Regions from separate parts of the Homo sapiens genome. Here regions 1 and 3 are each linked to region 2. Evidence: promoter capture Hi-C in human tissues and cell types (Jung and others, 2019). All regions are on one chromosome and are shown on one strand. Each heading gives the region's core, a stretch centred on a gene start or on the middle of the fragment in contact. The rest is flanking DNA. Distances are from core to core; before and after follow the strand shown. Region 1 overlaps SLC38A6 (solute carrier family 38 member 6). Region 2 holds the start of SIX6 (SIX homeobox 6). Region 3 overlaps PRKCH-AS1 (PRKCH antisense RNA 1).

What was found. Contacts are between HindIII fragments. The study calls those that stand out against the background at their distance.
Region 1: a contact is called between a fragment that was not itself captured here and the fragment with the promoter of SIX6 in region 2, in 1 of the 25 tissues and cell types used here (spleen).
Region 3: a contact is called between a fragment that was not itself captured here and the fragment with the promoter of SIX6 in region 2, in 1 of the 25 tissues and cell types used here (dorsolateral prefrontal cortex).

What each region holds. Positions count from the first base shown.
Region 1 is chr14:61,027,634-61,030,510 of GRCh38, forward strand. SLC38A6 (solute carrier family 38 member 6) reads left to right here. Exons shown (of 16, transcript NM_153811.3): 6 at 2,812-2,877. Among named protein-coding and RNA genes, the nearest start is that of SLC38A6, 48 kb to the left of the region's middle. The HindIII fragment of the contact is 3,792 bases long and covers 1-2,877 here.
Region 2 is chr14:60,507,863-60,510,901 of GRCh38, forward strand. SIX6 (SIX homeobox 6) reads left to right here and starts at 1,284. Exons shown (of 2, transcript NM_007374.3): 1 at 1,284-2,108. The coding sequence starts at 1,537. It also overlaps a transcript of C14orf39 not described here. The HindIII fragment of the contact is 5,424 bases long and covers 1-3,039 here.
Region 3 is chr14:61,294,577-61,297,335 of GRCh38, forward strand. It overlaps PRKCH-AS1 (PRKCH antisense RNA 1), which reads right to left. Exons shown (of 5, transcript NR_186042.1): 5 at 124-1,154. It also overlaps a transcript of PRKCH not described here. Among named protein-coding and RNA genes, the nearest start is that of TMEM30B, 15 kb to the left of the region's middle. The HindIII fragment of the contact is 3,903 bases long and covers 1-2,759 here.

The DNA of each region.
Region 1 (2,877 bases), core at 356-2,855, 520 kb after region 2:
TGATTGTTCTTTTGTATGAATTTAATTAAGATATATTTCCTAACTTAATGTGTATTTGGTAATCTTTTTGTTTCTTTTCTGTATTATATATAATATAATGTGTTAAAGTGCTAGCTAGTTCTTACATGAAAGTTTACTTGTGATTAAGAAAAAAATAATTTTCATAGTGAATAGAATGGTGGTGGCCTTTGTTTTACTGGCTTAATCCGTGTGGGTTTTCCCCTATAGTAAGTTCTGTGGTTGTATACTCTTAAAATATATACTAACATTCTCTAGAAAAGAAGCAATGTTTTGCATGTTTTATTATATTTGTATCTTGTATGTGAGGTCTTCTTTGAGAGAGAAACACGTTTGGTGAGTTCATATTTCTTAAAATATACATGATTCTTCAGACTGGAATCTAATGAAATAGTACTCCCATTTGAAAACCAAAGAGTTGAGGGTACAACAAAGGATAAAAGTGATCAGATGATTAGCCAGGGGCTAATAGAAATTCTGGAAAGAATGACAGATATTATATTAGAAAGAAATAGGATCTCATATTCACTGAAGCTTTCTACAGCTAAAGGTCCAAAAGAAATAATAGAAAATTACTGAAAGAGATGAATGTCTGAAACTTTAGAAATGCATGTGGTGTTGGATTAATCCAAGCAAGAAAGAAAGATGGGCAGATAATAAATTACATTTTATAGGAAGTCTGCTTTCCTTGTTTTCAAAGTATTTTGTCTTTTTTCTTTTCTGTCTCTCTCACAAGATATATTTAAGTAAGTCTAGGCCGGTTTCAGAAAATTCAGTTCACAATTTTTATCTTTGCACCATATGTGTAGAGTTCTTTGGAATCGGTAAAATATTATAAAAACTCCAAATCCTTGAATGGAGAAGGTTAGTCTAAACCTTCCTTCTGTTCTGTGCCAAATTGATAGCATTTTTCCTTACGAGAATATGAACAATACAGAACACATTTTCACATACAATCAGTTGTAATACCCCATAACTAAAAGATTTTGCAGAAATGTCTCAGTGGATTTTAGTCAACCCACTGAGACATAGCTGTACTTCTGCTAGGGAAAAAGAAATCGTTGTAAACTGAAAAAATATGTATATGTATATTTTCATCACAGAGAAGTGATTATTTAACTGTTCTAAATTTTACTTTGACATAAATACATGTTATTTTACTAAAAAAAATTGAGAGTGTATGTTTTTGTGTCTATAGTATTATCTATCTCCATACAAATTTACACGCAAAGTAGCATGTATCCTTTTTTTCCTCAAGTTAAATGGTCACATAGCATTGTAATCATGAAGTTCAGCTCCTTTCAAATGATGTTGATTGAGAAATATACATTCTTCTTAAACTATTTGAGCCTTTTAATCAATTTTTCCCCAGATTTTTGCCATTGAAACTTGACTTTCATTTTTGTTCTTAGCTTTTGTAAGTTTTGTAAGGAGAAAGTGAAATGTTTCCTGATATATAAATAAGTAATAAAATTAATGTGCACACAAAGTATACTCTTTATTCTTTTTTTTTTTTTTTTTTGAGGTGGAATTTTGCTCTTTCACCCAGGCTGAAGTGCAGTGGTGCAGTCTCGGCTCACTGCAACCTCCGCCTTCCAGTTTCAAGCGATTCTCCTGCCTCAGCCTCCCAGGTTAGCTGGTATTGCAGGCAACTGCCACCACGCCTGGCTAATTTTTGTATTTTCAGTAGAGACAGGATTTCACCATGTTGGCCAGGCTGGTCTCGAACTCCTGACCTCGTCAACCGCCCGCCTTGGCCTCCCAAACACTCTTTGTTCTTCATGGGCGTTTCCTTTTTGGCCCCAACACATACACACAAACATAATCTCTGGGAGGAAAGAGAATCTTACTCTGTTAAATTGAAGTTCTGACTACAAATCTTCTGAGTTTCTATATATTTAAGCTTAAACTCAAGTATTTACATATGAATGAGTTCTGTATTCTGTAACCATATTAAAACTTTTCCTAGTATTTTTATAGAATTTGTTTTTATAGCTACATCAGAATTAGGATCGTTATTAAAGTGCTATAAAAGGTAGTTATTTATCGGACTCTGTTAGATTAAATGTGAGAAATAATGCTAGCTTCAGGTTATGATTACATAATATAGATGAACCCTGTTAATAAAATGGAATAAAAGTTGGAAGTTTTGTCTTTTTAATATATTTAATGGTTTATATTGAACTTTCTCTAATCTTTTTAGAGACTAATTTTAAATGTAATTCATTATGTATTCTTTTTTATCCTATAATTATATGTGTTCATAATGCAGGGGTGGGTAGTAGAGAGAGGAAAAGAAAGGGACAGAGGGAATGAGACTTCTCTGTTGTGGGGAGGCATCTTTCTCTAGTAAGAAGGAACAGATAATCCAGTTACTAGCCATACCTATTAAACTTCTGTGTCTATGTCTGTTGTTGCTAAACTAACCTCTAATGCCTTAGACGGAGTGATAACATATAAGAGAGTTTTTGTAAAACTTTGTACAAAATTTCATTTAAAAGTAGCCTGTAATCAAGACTGTTTCTCTTACCTAGTTTGCTTTGGACTTGAAATGTAAACAAAAGATACTTAATGAACTTAACAATTGTTATTCTTCTCTACAGTTACTTTTCTGTGTGTGTGTGTGTGTGTGTGTGTGTGTGTGTGTGTATGTATCTTTGGTATAGTGTGTTATATGTTAATCTTCCATATGTTGTCATAGCTCTAATGGACATCTCTTTTCCTAGATGGATTATTGTTTAAATGGTTAAGAATCATAGAATTCTAATAGGAACACTATTTATTCTTTTGCAGCTATGTCATCTTATCTTTTAATTATTAAAACAGAGCTTCCTGCTGCTATTGCAGAATTTTTGACTG
Region 2 (3,039 bases), core at 34-2,533:
TTTTTGTTATACAGCCCCCTACCAGTTATTTTCTTCAAACTAAACAAACCCCTACCACAGGCCCAGATGAGATCATGGTTTCTTTGACCCAGGCCTCAGAAAATGGTATGATGTGGACTGCCAATTGGGAATCAATAAAAGTTGCCAATTCACTCCACTAGCCCAAAGTCAGAGCCACCAAGCCACTCCTTCCTCACTACAGGAGGGGTCAATAATCAGCGGCTTAGGAAGTGCTTTCTGGGCCCCCGCATTGTCGTGGATGCCCTTCTGTATTGTATTTTTACTGAATTGTTTTTGAGCTAAAATGCCAAGGTTAGAGTTGTTATCCCCAGCTCAAGAGGTATAAGTTCTAACACAAGGTAGGGGCAAAATAAGCCTACAAGGAAAGGAGTTAAGTCGATATTTTAAAAAAGATCTAGGAAATAAGCTTTTAAGTTGCTGTCCTGACCTACCAATGACTTCTCGGCTCTAGATGTGGCTATGCTGCACTTTGTTCAAGTCCATTAAACTGGGGGAGGGGGAGAAAGTATATTTCTCCCCCTTTATTTGGAGGTCCCTACAGCCCACCCTTCTTTTCTTAAAGTGTCTGACTTCGTGGTCTGCATCTGCGTTATCAGACGTGAACATGTCCTTGTTGGCATTTAAAATTATTTTAGTGGGCTTTGAAGGGAGTAAGGCTAGAGTTCAAACTGACCTCTTCTACAGATCCCTGGTCCTGTTCCTGCTGCTCCAGATTTGCTTCCCACTCAGCTGCTTTGGCAACTGGAAAGGGGAAGAGGGAGGCATGCAGAGATGGGTACTTGGGAAAAATGAGAAGATCGCTTCCCCCCACCGGCTTCCTGCTCCCACCGCAAGGTTTGCTGTTTCGTTACAACTAAACTTGCGAATTCTCGGAGCATTTCAGTTTGGCCCAGTCCTCTTTGTCCTCTGGAGACCTCTCGACCGAGACAACGCATCGCCCCAAAGTGAATTCCTGAATTCCTGTGGCATCACTGCCTATTTGGTGGGAAAAAGGGAGGGAGGGGTAGAGCGGGGTGGGGGAGGGAGGAGTAGTGAACGCTGCCGCACTCGCCTCTCTTTTTCTCCCAGACACTCGCATGTCTTTTCAACCTCCAGGTTCTGCAAAATACTGAAGAAAAGTCCAGGAGCTAACGGCGGGCGCTGTCGAGCACGGGGAGGTGCTGAAATAGTCCTGGCGTGCTGATTCAAGCTTTGATTGGCAGAGCCACCCGGTGACTGACAGGGGGTCTCCATGGCGCCCGCGCCGCCAATCCGCCCACCCCAATAGCGGAGCCAGCTCGCCTGCCGGCGTGCCTGAGCCGAGCCGAGCCCGAACCCCAAGCCGCGGAGCCAGCACCTCCTCCAGTCGGGGTCGTCCGCTCCCGGCCGTTGAGCCACCGCCGCCACCCGGTAGTGTGTCCCGCTGCCCCAATCCGCCTCATCAACAAGCGCCTGGCACACTCAGCCAGGCCCGCGGGCATCTGCTGCGTGTCCCGCTCCGGGCTCAGTGCCCTCGCCGCCGCCGGCACTGCCTCGATGTTCCAGCTGCCCATCTTGAATTTCAGCCCCCAGCAAGTGGCCGGGGTATGTGAGACCCTGGAAGAGAGCGGCGATGTGGAGCGCCTGGGTCGCTTCCTCTGGTCGCTGCCCGTGGCCCCTGCGGCCTGCGAGGCCCTCAACAAGAATGAGTCGGTGCTACGCGCACGAGCCATCGTGGCCTTTCACGGTGGCAACTACCGCGAGCTCTATCATATCCTGGAAAACCACAAGTTCACCAAGGAGTCGCACGCCAAGCTGCAGGCGCTGTGGCTTGAAGCACACTACCAGGAGGCTGAGAAGCTGCGTGGAAGACCCCTGGGACCTGTGGACAAGTACCGAGTAAGGAAGAAGTTCCCGCTGCCGCGCACCATTTGGGACGGCGAACAGAAGACACACTGCTTCAAGGAGCGCACGCGGCACCTGCTACGCGAGTGGTACCTGCAGGATCCATACCCTAACCCCAGCAAAAAACGTGAGCTCGCCCAGGCAACCGGACTGACCCCTACGCAGGTGGGCAACTGGTTCAAAAACCGCCGACAAAGGGACCGAGCGGCTGCAGCCAAGAACAGGTCGGTACCTAGAGGCCTCCGCGCTTTGAGCGCACCGGGGAGGAGGCGGGTGGAGGCACCTCTGGCGCCCTTACCCAGTCCCTGGCGACTCCAATTCAGCAGGAGTTGGGAGCGCGGTCTGTCTTGGGTTAAGAGCCCTGCGTTCTGGGCTCCTGGCCGGGAGTTCCCTTGCCGGCTCTGCTTCCCCACCCGCTGGCTCCCCACGCCTGCGGGCAGCTGCAGCAGCTGGTCCCGGTCACCAAACCAAGGCTTCACTGGGACGGAGAGGGGAAGAGAAATAAAAAATTAAAATCCTACAAACAGTTAGGGACCCCAAGACCCAAAGCTAATTCTTGTCAGCCTGGGCACAGGCTCCTACTATTAATCGAAGCCTGGCTTATTAGCAATGTGTCGGTTTCATGTTAATTATCATTTTCAAAGCCCAGGTATATCCCTCCCTAATGCTTTGAAAACAGTTTTCAATGGACTTTTGAGAAATGGGAAGTCGAGTTTTCCTCTTCCCATGCGCTGCCTGCCACTCTTGTCTCAAAACAGCAAACTAGTCCGTGGGCCGAGGCTTTTCGTTTCCCGGAGTGTGGATCTCGATTAGCCAAACATTTTGCGGAAGAGCCCGGCCTCATCCCCCAGGCCCAAATGCTCCTTACAATCCTTTTTGCCTTTAGGTCGGGCCGACCCGATCCAACGCGATCGCGGGAGCACTTGCTCAGGCGTAAGCCCCAGGCAGACGCACCGTTAGAAATGGTATCCCATGTCCCTGGGACCGATCTGTCCTTGTCACCCACACTTCGTTTATTTCCTGACAGTCCTGTAAATCTCCCAAAAGTGCACAACAAACAGGGAGGACACTGCAAGCCCAGTATATAAAAGACCTGGGAGCTGCGGCGCTGAGAAAGGGCGCGAATCATGGTGGGGCACAACAGTAGGGACCCGC
Region 3 (2,759 bases), core at 187-2,686, 790 kb after region 2:
AAATCTTTTAACTGTGATGGTAGATTTATTGATGGAATATAAGATGAGAATTGAATATATTGTTGCAGACCTATTTACTGTCATAATAAGATATCAATAATACACTGAAGACCGAATAAAAAGTCATTGAATATTATGCGTTTTTTATTCATTGTTGTTACAAATGTGTTTGAACATAAACATACAAAAAGGCCTGCAAGGAGATGCACCCCCCGCAAAAAAAATATCAGTATATATCTCTTAGTGGTCAGGCTACCAGTAATTATTTGCTTTCTTTTTAATTCCTATACCTATCTTCTTTTTTTGTTGCTGTCAAGACACAGTCTTGCTCTGTTGCCCAGGCTGGAGTGCAGTGGTGCGATCTTGGCTCACTGCAACCTGCACCTCCCGGGTTCAAGCGATTTTCATGCCTCAGCCTCCCGAGTAGCTGGGACATGCACCACTACTCCAGGCTAATTTTTTATATTTTTAGTAGAGACAGGTTTTGCCATGTTGGCCAGGCTGGTCTCGAACTTCCAGCCTCAAATGATCCACCTGCCTCGACCTCCCAAAGTGTTGTGATTACAGCCATGAGCCACCACGCCTGGCTCTTGTACCTATCTTCTAAAAAATAATGTAATTGACATGCAGTTGTTTTATAAACAGAGAACATGAAAAAGGATTCTGTATTTTAAAAAAATTCAAAAGAAAAAATATCAAAGAGAGTCCTGTGGTCTCTAAAGAACTTCCAGGTCTGAAAGACTGGTTTCAGATTGCCATGTTGCACAGAATTACTGGAAAAGATTTTTAAAAACATCTCCCCTGGGAGAGTCACCAGGTGATACTGATGTTGTCAGTCCCTGGCCAGCTAGAGGACACAGCCATGTAATTTAGCTATTGACACATCTAACTCCTCTGCCTCTTACTAAATATGGGACCTCAGGTTACTTGAATTTAATAAAAAAATTTTGTTTCTCCTGAGCGGCAACGTGGAATAGTAACATGAAGGATGGTAGTGAGGCTTAAATGGGGTAATGCCGAATCCAGTGCCTGGCACAAAGTAAAGCCTAGTAAGTGATACGTTGGTCTCCATAGCATCTAGCCCATGGTTCTCAACCTTATCCATAGGTGATTCCATACCACACGTCTTCCTTCTTCTCCCTTTGCAGCATATTCTAGACCAAGAGGAAGTAAAGAAAGCAATGGCTTAGTATGGCTGTTACTGTTGCTGCCCATTTGTGGAAATCATTGTTTCGAATGCTCTCTGCATAAAGTGATAACCCCCGATAAATAACTTATATTTTCACCCTTTTTTTTTTAAACCCTTTGCTGGTTTTCTTGTGGCTTTCCCATTATGGTGGAAATCCCCCTTAGAATTCAGGTAAGCCTGGAAGTTCATTCAAGAAACATTTGCAGTTGTGCCTGAAGCGGTCGGCTAGGGATTGATATGATCTTCATTCCCCAAAGAACTTGAAGCCAAGTGGAAAAGACAAATCAGTAAAATACCAGTTTCCACATCATAACATGTTAGAGGAATTTTTGTTGTTTTGAATATCTCACTTGCTGGGAGAGAGTAAAAGGGTAAACTTTATTTTTAAAATTCCTTTTTCAAATAGAGCAGGATATTTAAAAAGCAATTCTTATGGGGGAGTTACCAATTTTGTATAGAATATGGTTCAAACCACTTCAGAAGGGCTGAGATCAAAGAGCCTTAATCTTGAAGAGGTCACAGAGCTATGAGGCATTGTTCTTGGGGTAGCAAGCTTGGCAGCTCCTCGGGGGATCGGCTAAGCTGATACACACCCCTGCTCCTCCCATCCCTTCTCCATGTGTGCTGTACCACTTCCACACTTATGCCCCCAGAGTTGGGTGGCAGTGTGAGCAATGGAAAATTCCTTTGACCCCAGAACTGAGCTGTGAAGGTCATGCCACGGGGTGCATCTTTCCAAAATAGAACCAATGGATCTCAGCTCAGCTTCACTTTCTTTCTCTAAAGTCCAAGATACGTTCAGTAGCCCCATAATCTCCTCTGTCTTGAAGGGCTGCAGGGAGAATGGTTAGAATAGTCATTTTCCATGCAGAAGACTGGCCATCTGCTAAACTTGTAGACATCAAGATAATATCCTTTTATCTATCCCCCTAATCTTACCCTCCCTTTAAAAAACTATCCTAAACATATTATTTCATCCAAGGTATTTCTAATGATTTTGTTTCTGTGGGAATAGTGTATACGCATGAGGAACCCTATGTATTATAGTTTCAGGTGATTGAAGAGTGAAAGTAGAAAGTTGTAAAGTGCATATAAGTTATGGTTTCAGGTTTGTCATGAATTATTTTAATTTAACATGTGATCTGTAGTTATCTATGCAATATGATCATTTGTAACTCACATGATTGTAACTCACATGACAATGACTAAGGCAAAGATAAAATTTTTGTAGGCAAGGGCAGTTAACTATGCAATTTTGAAGCTTGTAATGTATTAGATTTTACTATTTTATTATTATTTCAGTTCTGATTCCCTTTCTTCTTCTTTTGGCTTATGGTTTGTGACCATTAGATGGCACTGTGCATCTCAAATATGGAAAGCACTTGGCATTCAAATGCTAGGCTATGCAGAAGAAAGTAACGTGCATTAGTTAATATTTTCATGCTATGGTTTCAATCAGGGTAGAAACATTTTATTTTTCATATAAAATTTGCCAATGTTACAGTTTATTAAGGAGAAATCCAGAATGTAATTCCACAGTCTTATGAAACTTACCTTGCATACAGAAACT